Linked DNA regions of Homo sapiens: region 1 is linked to region 2. Evidence: promoter capture Hi-C in 16 types of primary human blood cells and fetal thymus (Javierre and others, 2016). All regions are on one chromosome and are shown on one strand. The core of a region is centred on a gene start or on the middle of the fragment in contact, and the rest is flanking DNA. Distances in the headings are between cores, read along the strand shown.

Region 1 (6,118 bases), core at 1,506-4,005, 160 kb before region 2:
TGTGTCTTTAAAAAAAAAAAAAAAAGAGCCAGGCACAGTGGCTCACGCCTATAATCCCAGCACTTGGAAAGGCCAAGGCAAGTGGATCACAAGGTCAGGAGCTCAAGACCAGCCTGGCCAAGATGGTGAAACCCTGTCTCTACTAAAAATACAAAAAAATTAGCCAGGCGCGGTGGTGGGCGCTTGTAATCCCAGCTACTCAGGAGGCTGAGGCAGAGAATTGCTTGAACCTGGGAAGCTGAGTTGCAATGAGCCAAGATCACACCCCTGCAGCCTGGGCGACAGAGCAAGACTCTGTCTCAAAAAAAAAAAAAAAAAGTAAAAATTGTTTTAAAACCGAGTGAAAGATGCATAAAAGAAAAAACTAAAAAAAAAACTAAAAAAAAAAAAAAAAGAAAAAACTAGCCAGGCACGGTGGGTCATGCCTGTAATCCTAGCACTTTGGGAACCTGAGGCGAGCAGATCATGAGGTCAGGAGTTTGAGACCACTGGCCAACGTAGTGAAACCCCGTCTCTACTAAAAATACAAAATTAGCCAGGCATGGTGGCACGCGCCTGTAGTCCCAGCTAGTCAGGAGGCTGAGGCAGGAGAATTGCTTGAACCCGGGAGGCGGAGGTTGTGGTGAGCCAAGATTGCGCCACTGCACTCCAGCATGGGCAGCAGAGTGAGACTCTGTCTCCAAAAAAAAAAAAAAGAAAGACTAAAAAGAAATATATGAAGATGTTATTAGTGTTTTGATTTTGAGTCAGTGGAGTGATTTTTTTTTAATTTTAAAAATTAATTTTTTATTTTGAAGTGACAAGCCTGAGGATTCACAGATAATAACAGTGAGTTTACTTTTATGCAGATGTACGATTATAGTTTGGATATGTGGAGTTTGGGTTGTATGCTGGCAAGTATGATCTTTCGGAAGGAGCCATTTTTCCATGGACATGACAATTATGATCAGGTAATATATGTTATACCCATTGAAAAATGTACTGGCCTAATGCAATGATAGCCAGCACTGCCTGTAACTTTCAGTTCACTGTTTATTCAGCCACCCCGATATTGATCCTTAGATTGATGTTTCGGGAGCTACCAGCTTAGCCTTTTGAAATCAGACATTCCCCCCTAGTCTTTGTCATTTGCATTGCTTATTTTATTGTGAAGAATACATATAAATTGTCATCCAGATTTTTAAAATAGGACATTACCTTAGAATTCTCCTAATAAACCCTTATCTCCAATATGGTGTTTTCTCCAATATGTGAGCCCATATGTGGTATTTCTGTGATCCTTTTGGCTCTTTATATGGGTTGAGTTACAGATGTTTCTTAAACTAACTCCACTTCCCCCTTGAAGATCAAAGGGCTCTTTCATTCACAAGAACCTGGAATGATTCTAGGACCTTGTGGAAGGTACCATTGTCTTGTTCCCTTTGAGCACCATGTCCAATTTTAATGAGTCAAAGAATACAACCTGAATTCCATTAAAGTCAATAACTCTGTATCAAGTGCATGCAGTACTGAGGAATACAGAAAAAAGAAAGAATAGTTTTCTTCCCCTCAGATAGTTCATAGCTGATCTTGTAAGGGAGTCAAACATACAACAAAATAGGTTACAGTCATAACTTCAGAGTAGAAATGTGGACAAGGCACAAAAGGCAGTAGTGGTGAGTAGTTTGAGTGTGCAATGGGAGCTTCCCAAAAGAAGTGACATCTTCAATTGGGTTTTGAGGGGAGAAAAATAAGGGTTCACCAGGGTGACATTTCAAGAGGAAGAAACCAGTTTATAAAGTAGTTTGCTTTTTCTAACACTATCACATTGAGTTGAAGTCTAAACTGTTAGGAGGTAGCATTCATACCTGTAGACATGATGACCCGTTTATGTAAATTCAATCATTGTTAATTGTTGATTTGTTAATATAATATGCTTGTGATATGGGTTTTTGTCTTTCTTTAATACTAGTTGGTGAGGATAGCCAAGGTTCTGGGGACAGAAGATTTATATGACTATATTGACAAATACAACATTGAATTAGATCCACGTTTCAATGATATCTTGGGCAGGTAAGTCATGAAACAAAATATGTGCATCTGTGGCTTAAGCACTTTGAGAGTGAACTGGCACTTAGGATCTTCAAAATAGTTATGTTTTCTTTGCCAGCACTGTCAGGATGTCAGTGGTCCAGTGCCACAGGATGCTGCATTGAGCAGGCCTCTGATAAAGGCATTGGATTGAATGGCCCTTTATTCAAATTAACTTACAGGAGTCTGATGGAGGGGTTATAGCTAGAGGATTCCTACAAAATGAATGTAGATTCTAGTAGAAGGGTTACAGTTGAGGCAAAAATCAAAATTTACCTTGCTTCTTTAAGTGAAAAACCTCTCTCCAAGAGAAAGAAATTGAAGTAGAAAATGCATGCTTTAAGACTGATGTGCAGGCTGGGCACGGTGGCTCATATCTGTAATCCCAGAACTTTAGGAGGATCACTTGAGCCCAGGAGTTGGAGACCAGCCTGGACAACATAATGAGACCCTCGACTCCATGCATGGTGATGTGTGGCAGTAGTCCAGACTACTAGGAAGCTGAGGCAGGAGCTTCCCTTGAGCCCAGGAGGGAATGCTACAGAGAGCAATGAACATGTGGCTGCGCTCCAGTCTGGGCAACAGAGTGAGACCCTGTCTCCAAAAAAAAAAAAAAAAAGGCTATATGCAGACAACCGACTCTTAACAGTAGTGACTAGATATAGTACTTATACACTTAACCACTCAACAGGAGGAGATGGACTTTCCTGATGCAAAGGCTTTTGCTGGCCAATTGGCAGAGATGCCAGGAATATGTGTGGGGATGGGAAATAGGCCTGGTGAGCTCAGCCACCTGACCCTCCTTGCTACACAGAAGCGGTCACGTCCTGTCAAGTAACCTGAATTATGTTTCTTAAAATTGAGAGGACTCAGATGTCTTTTTTCACTCTAGCTATGTTGTTTCCAGTCTCCAGTTAGCTTTGTTGTCCCACTCAGTGGCAGAGCGGTGCAAGACTACCCTCTTGAGTTTGGATCCCTCTTTGCTTTTGTCTGGGCTGTTAGCCACTAAGAAAAATGTAGGAATGAAATGTTGGGCTTCTGTGCCCACGTGGCCCATTTCTCATGCCCTCTTTTGGTCCTGCAGACACTCTCGAAAGCGATGGGAACGCTTTGTCCACAGTGAAAATCAGCACCTTGTCAGCCCTGAGGCCTTGGATTTCCTGGACAAACTGCTGCGATATGACCACCAGTCACGGCTTACTGCAAGAGAGGCAATGGAGCACCCCTATTTCTGTGAGTCCAGATATCTAGCCCACAGAGTTTGTGCAGGCGCAGAGTCCTATAGAACAGAGTCGTAATCCCAGCTCCTGTCAGCTTGCTGCAAAGTTAATTCACCCACACTGAGCCTCAGATTCTTCCAGTGGGGATAGTGATGGCAACTACATTGCAGAATTACTGGAAGAATTCTTCTGTAACAGAATACATGACACAAGAGCATTCCTAAATAAACTCTTTTCATACTGTGAGGATGACACTTCTCAGTGCCTCAGTCTGGAATGGTTGAATTAGAATACACAGCCCTGTATCTTTCCTGTCCCTAGTAATCATTCGTTGGAAAGAGCTAATGAGGCTTACAAATCTTAAAATTGTATGAACACCTTGACTTAGATTTGTGAGTATAGCCACCTGTGCCATCCTAAGTGAAAATACCACTGAGACCCACCCCATCTGCACTGTGATGTTAGCTGCAACATGACATTTTTCCTTCGGTGTGATGGTTTTGTACTGAATCATTTATACTTTTGCCCAATACCTGAAGCAGATAGATAGGCTGATTGGGATAGAGAATGTGGTCATAGCCCTAAGCTACATGGACCTATAGCTTTGGCCTACTTGGTACTGGGCTGTGGACACACTGGTAATATATTACCGTCTTTGCCGAGTTACAGTGTCTTGTCTCCATTAAACCTCAACAGGACCAGGGCTTCATTAAATTCGCTCTGCTATAAATAATTACCTCATCTTTCTACCATTTGATTGAAAGGTTAGCTTTTACCACAGTTTGATAGGAAAGCTATTTCTGCTTTTTACCACTTGTCTAATTCATGGTGAAGGCAATTGCCACCTTAAGTTCTTTGGGGAATAATGTAGAGTATATATAAATTGCAAAGAATGAAGCTGGCTGCTTTCAGGCTTCCAGACCATTAGTTTAATCTTTCAAGCAAAACAGAACCTAGCCTTTTTGTCTCTTTTCTAGACACTGTTGTGAAGGACCAGGCTCGAATGGGTTCATCTAGCATGCCAGGGGGCAGTACGCCCGTCAGCAGCGCCAATATGATGTCAGGTCAGTTCATTGGTAAATTTTCTTTAAAAAAATGTGGAAGTCAATTACTGTTCTTAGCTTTGTGGTCTGATTTCTTGTATACCTTCTCTTCTCCGTACTGGTGGCCTTGTGACTTTTTTTTAACCAGGTTTCAGCATGCTTGACATTTGGTATACTTTAGTGATACTGTCTTGAGTAGGGTATCCCCTTCTAGGCTAGAATCTCAGCATTCCTGGCTGAAAATTTTTGGCATAGGGGCTTGAAAGTGCCAAGCCATGAAAAGGAAAAATACACCATTTCATCTTATAGTTTGAAATGACAGTAGTTACATGGCCCTTAGAAACAATGTTAAGAAATGGGGTATAGAGGTGGGGTTTATACATAGGTGTGTATGTGTACAAGGACAGTTCCGTGACATGTGCCAGAGCAACTATAGAGTGCCTATCAGTTGTAAAAACATAAGTAAAATGGTTTTCCATTATTGGATCATTGTGACGCACAGTGAATTTTTATAGAGTACCCAGTTATTCCAAAGGAACTACAGGCACATAGCATAAGAATTATACATATAGGCAACATCCAAGTGGGTGCATATCTGGTAGTGAAGGCATTTACTTACATATCCTCAAATAATTGCTGTTGCCCTCCTCTTTTTTAAGAAAAGAACTAACTGCCTTCTAGAATTTACCCCTTGAGTATCCTACCTCTGTACAGAGTAATGTATATCCAAACTTACTTGTAGCCTTATTTGTAATAACAAAACATTGAGAATAGCTATCAGTAGGAAACTGGTTAAATCAGTTATGGTATATCCATTTAATGGAATGTGGTGCAGCCAGTAGAATAAGAGTTTCATGTTCTGTTAGATCTCCAACTCCAATATAATAATGTGAAATTTAAAACGCAAGATGCAGGGCCAGGTGCAGTGGCTCATGCCTGTAATCCCAGCACTTTGGGAGGCTGAGGCGGGTGGGTCACTTGAGGTCAGGAGTTCGAGACCAGCCTGGCCAGCATGGCGAAACCCTGTCTCTACTGGAAATACAAAAAATTAGCTGGGCGTGGCGGCGGCGCCTTTAATCCCAGCTACTTGGAGGCTAAGGCAAGATAATCGCTTGAACTTGGGAGGCAGAGGTTGCAGTGAGCCGAGATCGCACCGTTGCCCTCCAGCCTGGGTGAGAGTGAGACTCTGTCTCAAAAGAAAAAGTGAGATGCAGAGCCATGTCTAAGAGGAGTGGAGAAGAATGTATAATAATGTTCTCATATATATATATATATATATATATATATTTTTTTTTTTTTTTTTTTTTTTTTTTTTTTTTTTTTTTTTTTTGGAGACAAGGTCTTGCTCTGTGGCCAAGGCTGGAGTGCAGTGGCACAATCTCAGCTGCTGCAGCCTCCGCCTCCCGGGTTCAAGCGATTCTCCCACCTCAACCTCCCAGGTAGCTGGGACTACAGGCGCCCGCCATGACGCCCAGCTAATTTTTGTATTTTTAGTAGAGATGGGGTTTCACCATGTTGGCCAGGCTGGTCTTGAACTCCTGACCTCAGGTGATCCGCCCAACTTGGCCTCCCAAAGTGCTGGCATTACAGGCGTGAGACACTGCACCTGGCCTTTGTATACTTTTTTGAACCTTTTGTATTTTGAACCATGTGAATGTATTACCTGTGTGTACACACACACACACACACACACACACACACAAAAACATGATTAGAGAGGTGGAAGAAATCAAATGGAAATAAATTCCAAAACACAATTTTATCTTAGAAAATGCTCTTTCCCCA
Region 2 (6,303 bases), core at 2,189-4,688:
GCAGGAGGTAGGCCCCTTGAAGTGGGTCATGACACCACTGTCCACCCAGAGTCACTCGTCTATGTTACCTGCCTGGTCCCTACAGGGATGAGTTTGCTATTCTTCATGAAGGCCAGGGAGTCCTGACATAGAGGCCTAGACAGGCAAGGTGGCTTGCCCTGGGACACCCAGCTCGGGCCCAAATCACACGGACTTGAATCTGGCAAACTGTTTAGGGAGGGTTGAGGAAGAGCACAGACATGCAGAACCACAGGGCAAGGTCGGGGCAAATACACTTTATTCAGTCCTGGCATCAGACTGGCGGAGTCCTGCTGTGGGTGCCAGTGCCCCAGACAGAGGGACCCCACCCCTCAGCTACGAGACTAGTTCTCCAAGACCACAGACAGTGACATCTCTTCACTCACATGACGTTTTTTTTTTCATTGTCTTTTTTTGTTGTTGTTGTTTTTCTTAAAAAAAAAAAAAAAAAAAATAGAGCGCAAGAAAGGCCCAGAGCCGGAGCACCAAGCTTAAAGGAGGCAGCTGGTGGCTTTGTCAGCGACGGGAACGCGTGGGGCAGAGACCTGCAGAGACCCTGGGCAGGGGTCCGGAGGACTCTGGGACCGTTTGTTCCTGAGATTTGTGTGTGTGAATGAGAGTGTGTGAGCCACCCGGGAGGGTGAACACACGCCGGTGAGATACAGGTAGTGAGGGCAAGGGGGGTGTGGGGAGGCCGGAGGGGCGGGGCGGGGCAGAGAGATGGCGGCGTGAGAGGGGCCACAGCAACAGGGACAGGGCTCCCGAGGGCACCCTGAACTGGACACAACTTCCTCCTAACAGCAGCGTTCTCCCCATTTCTCACGTGGAAAAACCGAGGTGCAAACGGCCCATCACTACTCGGAATCCATTCTCAGTCTCACTGGCCAAGTCGATGGTCTCTCCCAAACCAGATGTTTAAAAGCGAGAGTCTTCCTGCCATCACATCTGCTCTCCACGCCTCAGTCCCAAACCCCTAGCACCAAAGTGCCTCAGTTTTTCCCGCTGTATACTGCAGCTTGAGTACTGAGGGTGGACCTGGGTGACAGGAAGGGCCGGTGCGCTCAGGGAGGAGCCCAGGTTGCGGGTGCCCTGAGGTGAGGGGGCACTTCCCAGGAGGGGGTGGGGAAGGTGCAGCAGGGATCCTGTCCCCAGACAGACTGGTAAGGTGCCTTGGTTTTTAGTTTTCTTGGGTGGTCCCTTCCTCTACTGCTGGATTTCCAGAGAAAGACCTTACCTCTCAATTCCCAGTTGGGGGGAAAAAGGGACGTATAGGTAGGCTGTAGAGGCAGCCACGCGACCGGAGAGGTGGTGCGCGTGGGTGTAGGAGACCCCATACCGGAAAAGGGGCTATGCCACTTGGGAGAGTTTCAGGCCCAAACCAACCCTTCCGAGTGCTCCTCCCATTAAGGCAGCGACGCCCCGTTGGCTGGAGAGGAAACCTAGGGCTCCCGGATCAAAGGATTTCCCAGGATCGCTCTACACTCGCCCCCGCTTTTGCCCGGAGCGGGCGAAGAGTGCGGCTCCGCTGGGACCAGCCCCCTCCTCCCCAGAAGCATTAAGCATGCGCACGAAGGGGGTGGGCCCCAGCGGAGGGGCGGGCCCTAGCGCTCCGGGGATAAAAGGGGTGCGCCCCTCCCCCCAGGGAAGGGAGGGGCGCAGGAGGCGCGTGCGTTGCCACCCGGCCGCATCGCCCCCCTAACCCAGAGAAGGCGGGCCGGGCGAGGGAGGAGAGATTCCGGAGCAAAGGAGGGGGCGGGTCCTCCGGCCACGAGGAGGGGCGTGTGCAAAAGGGGGGAGGGGTGCAGGTCTGTAGGAGAGGACGGGAGGTGTATCGGAGGGGGCTGGCTGCTGGTGGCTGTGCAGGAGGGGGCGACGTGGGGAGGGGCTTGGGTGTCGGGGAAGGGGTGGGGGTTGGGCTGCCTTGGGGTGTGTCTGCGGGGGAGGGGCATGTCTGGATCTGAGGGGGGATGGGCACGTCCAGGAGGGGGCAGGCTGCGCGGGAGATGGGGTGCCAGCCTCGGCCTCCGAGGGGCCCCAATACCTGATTCCTGTATGTAAACAGCTGGTTTGGGGGCGTGCGCGCCCCGCTGACGGTGGGCTCAGTAGGTGAAAACCAGGTCTGCGATGCTAGACGGGCGCCAGTCCCCCGCGATCATCTCGGTAACCTCGGGGGTGCAGTAGTCCGGGAACTCGAAGTGCGACGTGCCCGAGGGAGGCTGCAGGTCCGGGTCGCGATCCAGGGCGCTGCAGTCCAGGCCGGCCGGGCCAGGGGGCAGCCTGGACAGAAAGCCCAGCGACTCCTCCCCCGACGCCACCGTCTCCTCTTCACCTTCCTCAGCCGCTGCCGCCTCCTCCTCCTCTTCCTCCGGCTCCTCGTCCTCCGACGGTGTCGGGGAGGCGGCGGCGGCGGCGGCCGCCCCCTCGCCCGACGGCCCTTGGGCGCGCTCCGCTTGTCCCCGAGCGGCCCGTCCCGCCGGGACCATCCTCCACAGCTCCCGCCCCGGGGTCTCGACCAGGCGCACTTCCAGCAGCTCCTCGTCGTCGTCTTCATCGTCGTCCTCGGGCGCCGCCGCCCCGCCCCCCAAAGGCCCTCCCGCTGCTCGGCGGCCCCCGCGGCCAGGCAGCTGCGGCCCGGGCTTGAGCCGGCTGCCGCCACCGCTACCACCGGGGGGGCGGGGCCGCGCCTTGGCGGGCGCCCCCTTGCTCTTTTTGCGCGGCCGGTACTTGTAGTCCGGGTAATCCGCCATGTGCTTGAGCCGCAGCCGCTCCGCCTCCCGCACGAACGGGATCTTCTCCGAGTCCTGCAGCAGCTGCCAGCGGCGGCCCAGGCGCTTGGAGATCTCGGCGTTGTGCATGTCGGGCCACTGGTCCATGATCTTCCGCCGTTCGTGCTGCGACCACACCATGAATGCGTTCATCGGCCTCTTGATGTGGCCGCTCGGGGTCTTGCACCAGCCGGGCTCGCGCGCCCCCTCCTCGGCCGGCCCGGGTCCCGGGGGCGGCGGCCCGCCGTCCCGCTTGGCCCTCGCGCCCCGCTGCTGCACCATCGCGCCTGGGCCCGGGGCCGCTAGACGCCGCCGGGGGCCGTCCGCATCCTCCGCGGCTGGGGGTGGGGGAGGAGGCAGCGGCGACGGAGGGGCGGCCCCGCCCCGCGGCTCGGCCCGGCCCCCGCGAACTGGGGAGCGAGGAGCTGGGCGCTCGGGCCCAACGGACGGCGGGGGGAGAAGGTCAGCGCGGTCTCAGGCGGGCTCGGCGCGCCCCCGCCGCCTCCGGCAAGTTGCGTCCTGGCTCACAACACACATTGTTTTGCGGGGGCCGAGGAATCGCACCCTCCGGGCCCCCGCGGGCTCTTCCTGCAGCCTCTGGCTCCGCCGCGGCCCGCGCGCGCCGCTCCCCGCCCGGCCGCCGACGCCTTTCAGTGTCTTTCTCCCCGCGCGGCCCCGCCGGCGCGCGCACCACCCCTCCCCCTCGCCGTCTGCGGGCCGCTGCGGCGCGCGCGGGGCCGCCCCGTGTAAACACCGAGGTGCCCGCTTGGGCTGCGGCCGGGCCCCGCCTCGCGCTCGGGCGCCGCGTCACCCGTTGCTGGGCAGAGAAGCCGGTATTTGCATCTCCCAATCGCTGGCCGCCGGAGCGGGGCGGGGCTCGGGCTGCGGGGCTGGGCGGTCTCGCGGCTAGGATTGGGGGAGACCGGCGAGATCGGTTTCTTTTCTTAGGTTAGGGGTTGGAGGAAGGGTAGGGGACGCGAGCCTGCTTCCATCTGACGCTGGACGCTTGTCCCTGCCCCGCGTTGCCTTTTAAATTTTAGCTCATTCCGAGACACCTGCCGTCAGGTAGGATTTCCGCCCTTTCCTCTTTCAGGGACGTCTTTTCGGACCATCCCAGAAGAGAATTTGGGGGGCCCAAGACTCAGGAAAGCTTCTTAAGGGGACGAACTCAGGTTGTCGTAGATGTTGCCCCCCGCCTACTACACACAGGGTCCGACCACATATGGGACCAGCAAATGCTTTTGGACCTAGTGAACAAATCCCTTTCTCATATATATGTATATTTAATCTCGTTCGAAGCTCCATAAGAATCCGGAGGGAGAAGGGAATATGATAATATGATGCCCAGTTTCCAAATAGGAAGCACCGAGGACACGCAGACTAGGATTCGATTCCCAGGCTCGCGGTCCCAGCTGTCTCTCCCCTGCTCAGCACCAAGGGCCGCGGGGCACCTCGCCTGCCAGCCAAAGGTCCTGAGCTGGGCGGACTTCCCGCTTTTCACAAACCGCAGGCGACATTCGAGGATGCGTGGGTGCGCCATTCCCAGGTCCTACCCCACCCCGTAGCCTGCCCGGTGCCCGACTTGGGCGCGTCGCCCCACCCAAGCCTGGAGAAGCGTGCAGGGGCACGGGGCGGAGCCAGTCCTGGGGGCGTGGCCGGGTGGCCGGCACGAGGCGCGTGGCGGGGAGGGGCCGCGCGCTCCCGGCTCACCACGTGTGAGCCAGTTCGGGCACCACTGGGCGTGTGCCGCCCCTGGGGGAGGTCACCTTCACGGCGTCGTGAGCATGGGCGATGGGAGGGGGCGCTGAGGCCTCGCCCTTGGGAAGCAGGAGCTGGGAGGTGCCCGGATTAGGGTCTTTAAGGTGGCATTCCGCTGGGGCGTAGCGGGCATGGTTTGGGGCTAGGAGAATGCGCCTCTGGCGGTACAGCTCACCCACTTCTGGACGAGCGAAGGCCAAGAGCCGAGCTTGAGGGTGTGGGGCGGGGAGGAAGGACCGAGGTGCGGCTCCGCGGCGCGGGGGGCGGGGTGGGGGTGGTGGGGAGAAAGAAATTGGAGCATCCCTGGAGGGAGGGGGCGACTCTTAAAGGCACAGGGTGCTTGGAAGAGGAGGCCCTGCTCCCGTCCAAACGGTCCCTCCGCCTTTCAGAAGCTGAGATCTGGAAAAGCCTACGTGTAAAACCTTTACATCTGCAGCCTGAGCAGTCTACCCGATGGAGTCACACTTCCTGAGTTCACATTCCCAGTCCCTCCTTTTCCTTATCCTGAAAATGGGGATAATTCAGTTTCTCCCTCACATGGTGGTTTTACAGATTAAATGAGATAATGCATGTAAACACATCCTGATACCTAGGCAATGTTCAATAAAACTTATGATAGACGGGACGCGGTGGCTCACACCTGTAATCCCAGCACTTTGGGAAGCCAAGGCGGGCGGATCATTTGAGGTCAGAAGTTCGAGATCCGCCTGGCCGATATGGTGAAACCTTGTCTCTACTAAAAGTACAAAATAATGAGTCAGGCTTGGTGACGCGTACCTGTAATCCCAGCTACTCAGGAGACTGAGGTATGAGAATCGCTTGAACCTAGGAGGCGGATGTTGCAGTGAGCCGCTGCACTCCAGCCTGAGTGACAGAGTGAGACCCTGTCTAAAAAAAAACTAAAAGTTTTGAGAAACTAGATTTCCCAATAGTTACGCAGGTCACCAGCAACCCAGAGACATCACCATAATGAGAAAAAAAAATGGGCAGAGTGGGGACAGCTCTAGGATTTCAGAAAAGGTATCAAAGTAATGATTGTAGGACAAATAAAAGCTTTCTTGGAATTATCAACACCTTAACACTTTTCCCATAAATAAAATATTTGTTTTATTTTAGACGGTGTGTGATAGGTACCACAATCTTTTCAATGCTTATGGCCTCTCAAAGATCTGTCTCTGACCCTGTAGCTGCTGCTGCTATTATTATTCCAATGTATGTGAATAGTTCCTAACCTTACTCACTGCCAAACTGATTTGGACCAGGATTTCACTCTTTATTCTCAGCAGTGAAAATGCTGCATTCATTATTCACACCTGCCTCCTTTCCTTCTTCCATCCATGCATGCATCCATTAATAAACATTTGACCCTGCACAGTGGTTCACAGCTGTAGTCTTAGCACTTTGGGAGGCTGAGGCAGGCAGATCACTTAAGGCCAGGAGTTCAAGACCAGCCTGGGCAACATGGTGAAACCCTTACTCTACAAAAAAAAGTACAAAAATTAGCTGGGCAGGGTGGTGCCTGCCTGTAGTCCTAGCTACTTGGCAGGCTGAGGCAGGAGGATTGCTTGAGCCGGAAAGGTGGAAGTTGTAATGATTGTACCTCTGCACTCCGGCCTGGGAGACAGAGACTTTATCTCAAAATAAATAAATAAATAAATACATAAACAAACATTATTAATACTTACCATTCCTTAGGCCCTTTGACGGACTCTGAGGAGCTAGAGATGGTTAAAGTCTGGCTGAACCTAGGCCCTGGAAGAAC

The links. Contacts are between HindIII fragments. The CHiCAGO score rates a contact against its expected background, and 5 or more counts as called.
Region 1: a contact is called between a fragment that was not itself captured here and the fragment with the promoter of SOX12 in region 2, in 1 of 17 cell types (fetal thymus). The highest score is 5.7, in fetal thymus.

What each region holds. Positions count from the first base shown.
Region 1 is chr20:484,612-490,729 of GRCh38, reverse strand. CSNK2A1 (casein kinase 2 alpha 1) reads left to right here. Exons shown (of 14, transcript NM_177559.3): 10 at 849-950; 11 at 1,952-2,052; 12 at 3,155-3,303; 13 at 4,268-4,354. Among named protein-coding and RNA genes, the nearest start is that of TBC1D20, 25 kb to the right of the region's middle. The HindIII fragment of the contact is 9,998 bases long and covers 1-6,118 here.
Region 2 is chr20:322,687-328,989 of GRCh38, reverse strand. SOX12 (SRY-box transcription factor 12) reads right to left here and starts at 3,438. Exons shown (of 1, transcript NM_006943.4): 1 at 1-3,438. The coding sequence starts at 3,065. The coding sequence ends at 2,118. NRSN2-AS1 (NRSN2 antisense RNA 1) reads left to right here and starts at 3,738. Exons shown (of 3, transcript NR_109990.1): 1 at 3,738-3,848. RefSeq lists silencers at 2,309-2,798, 2,819-2,878, 2,949-3,328, 3,439-3,748, 4,309-4,568 and 2 more. The HindIII fragment of the contact is 3,425 bases long and covers 511-3,935 here.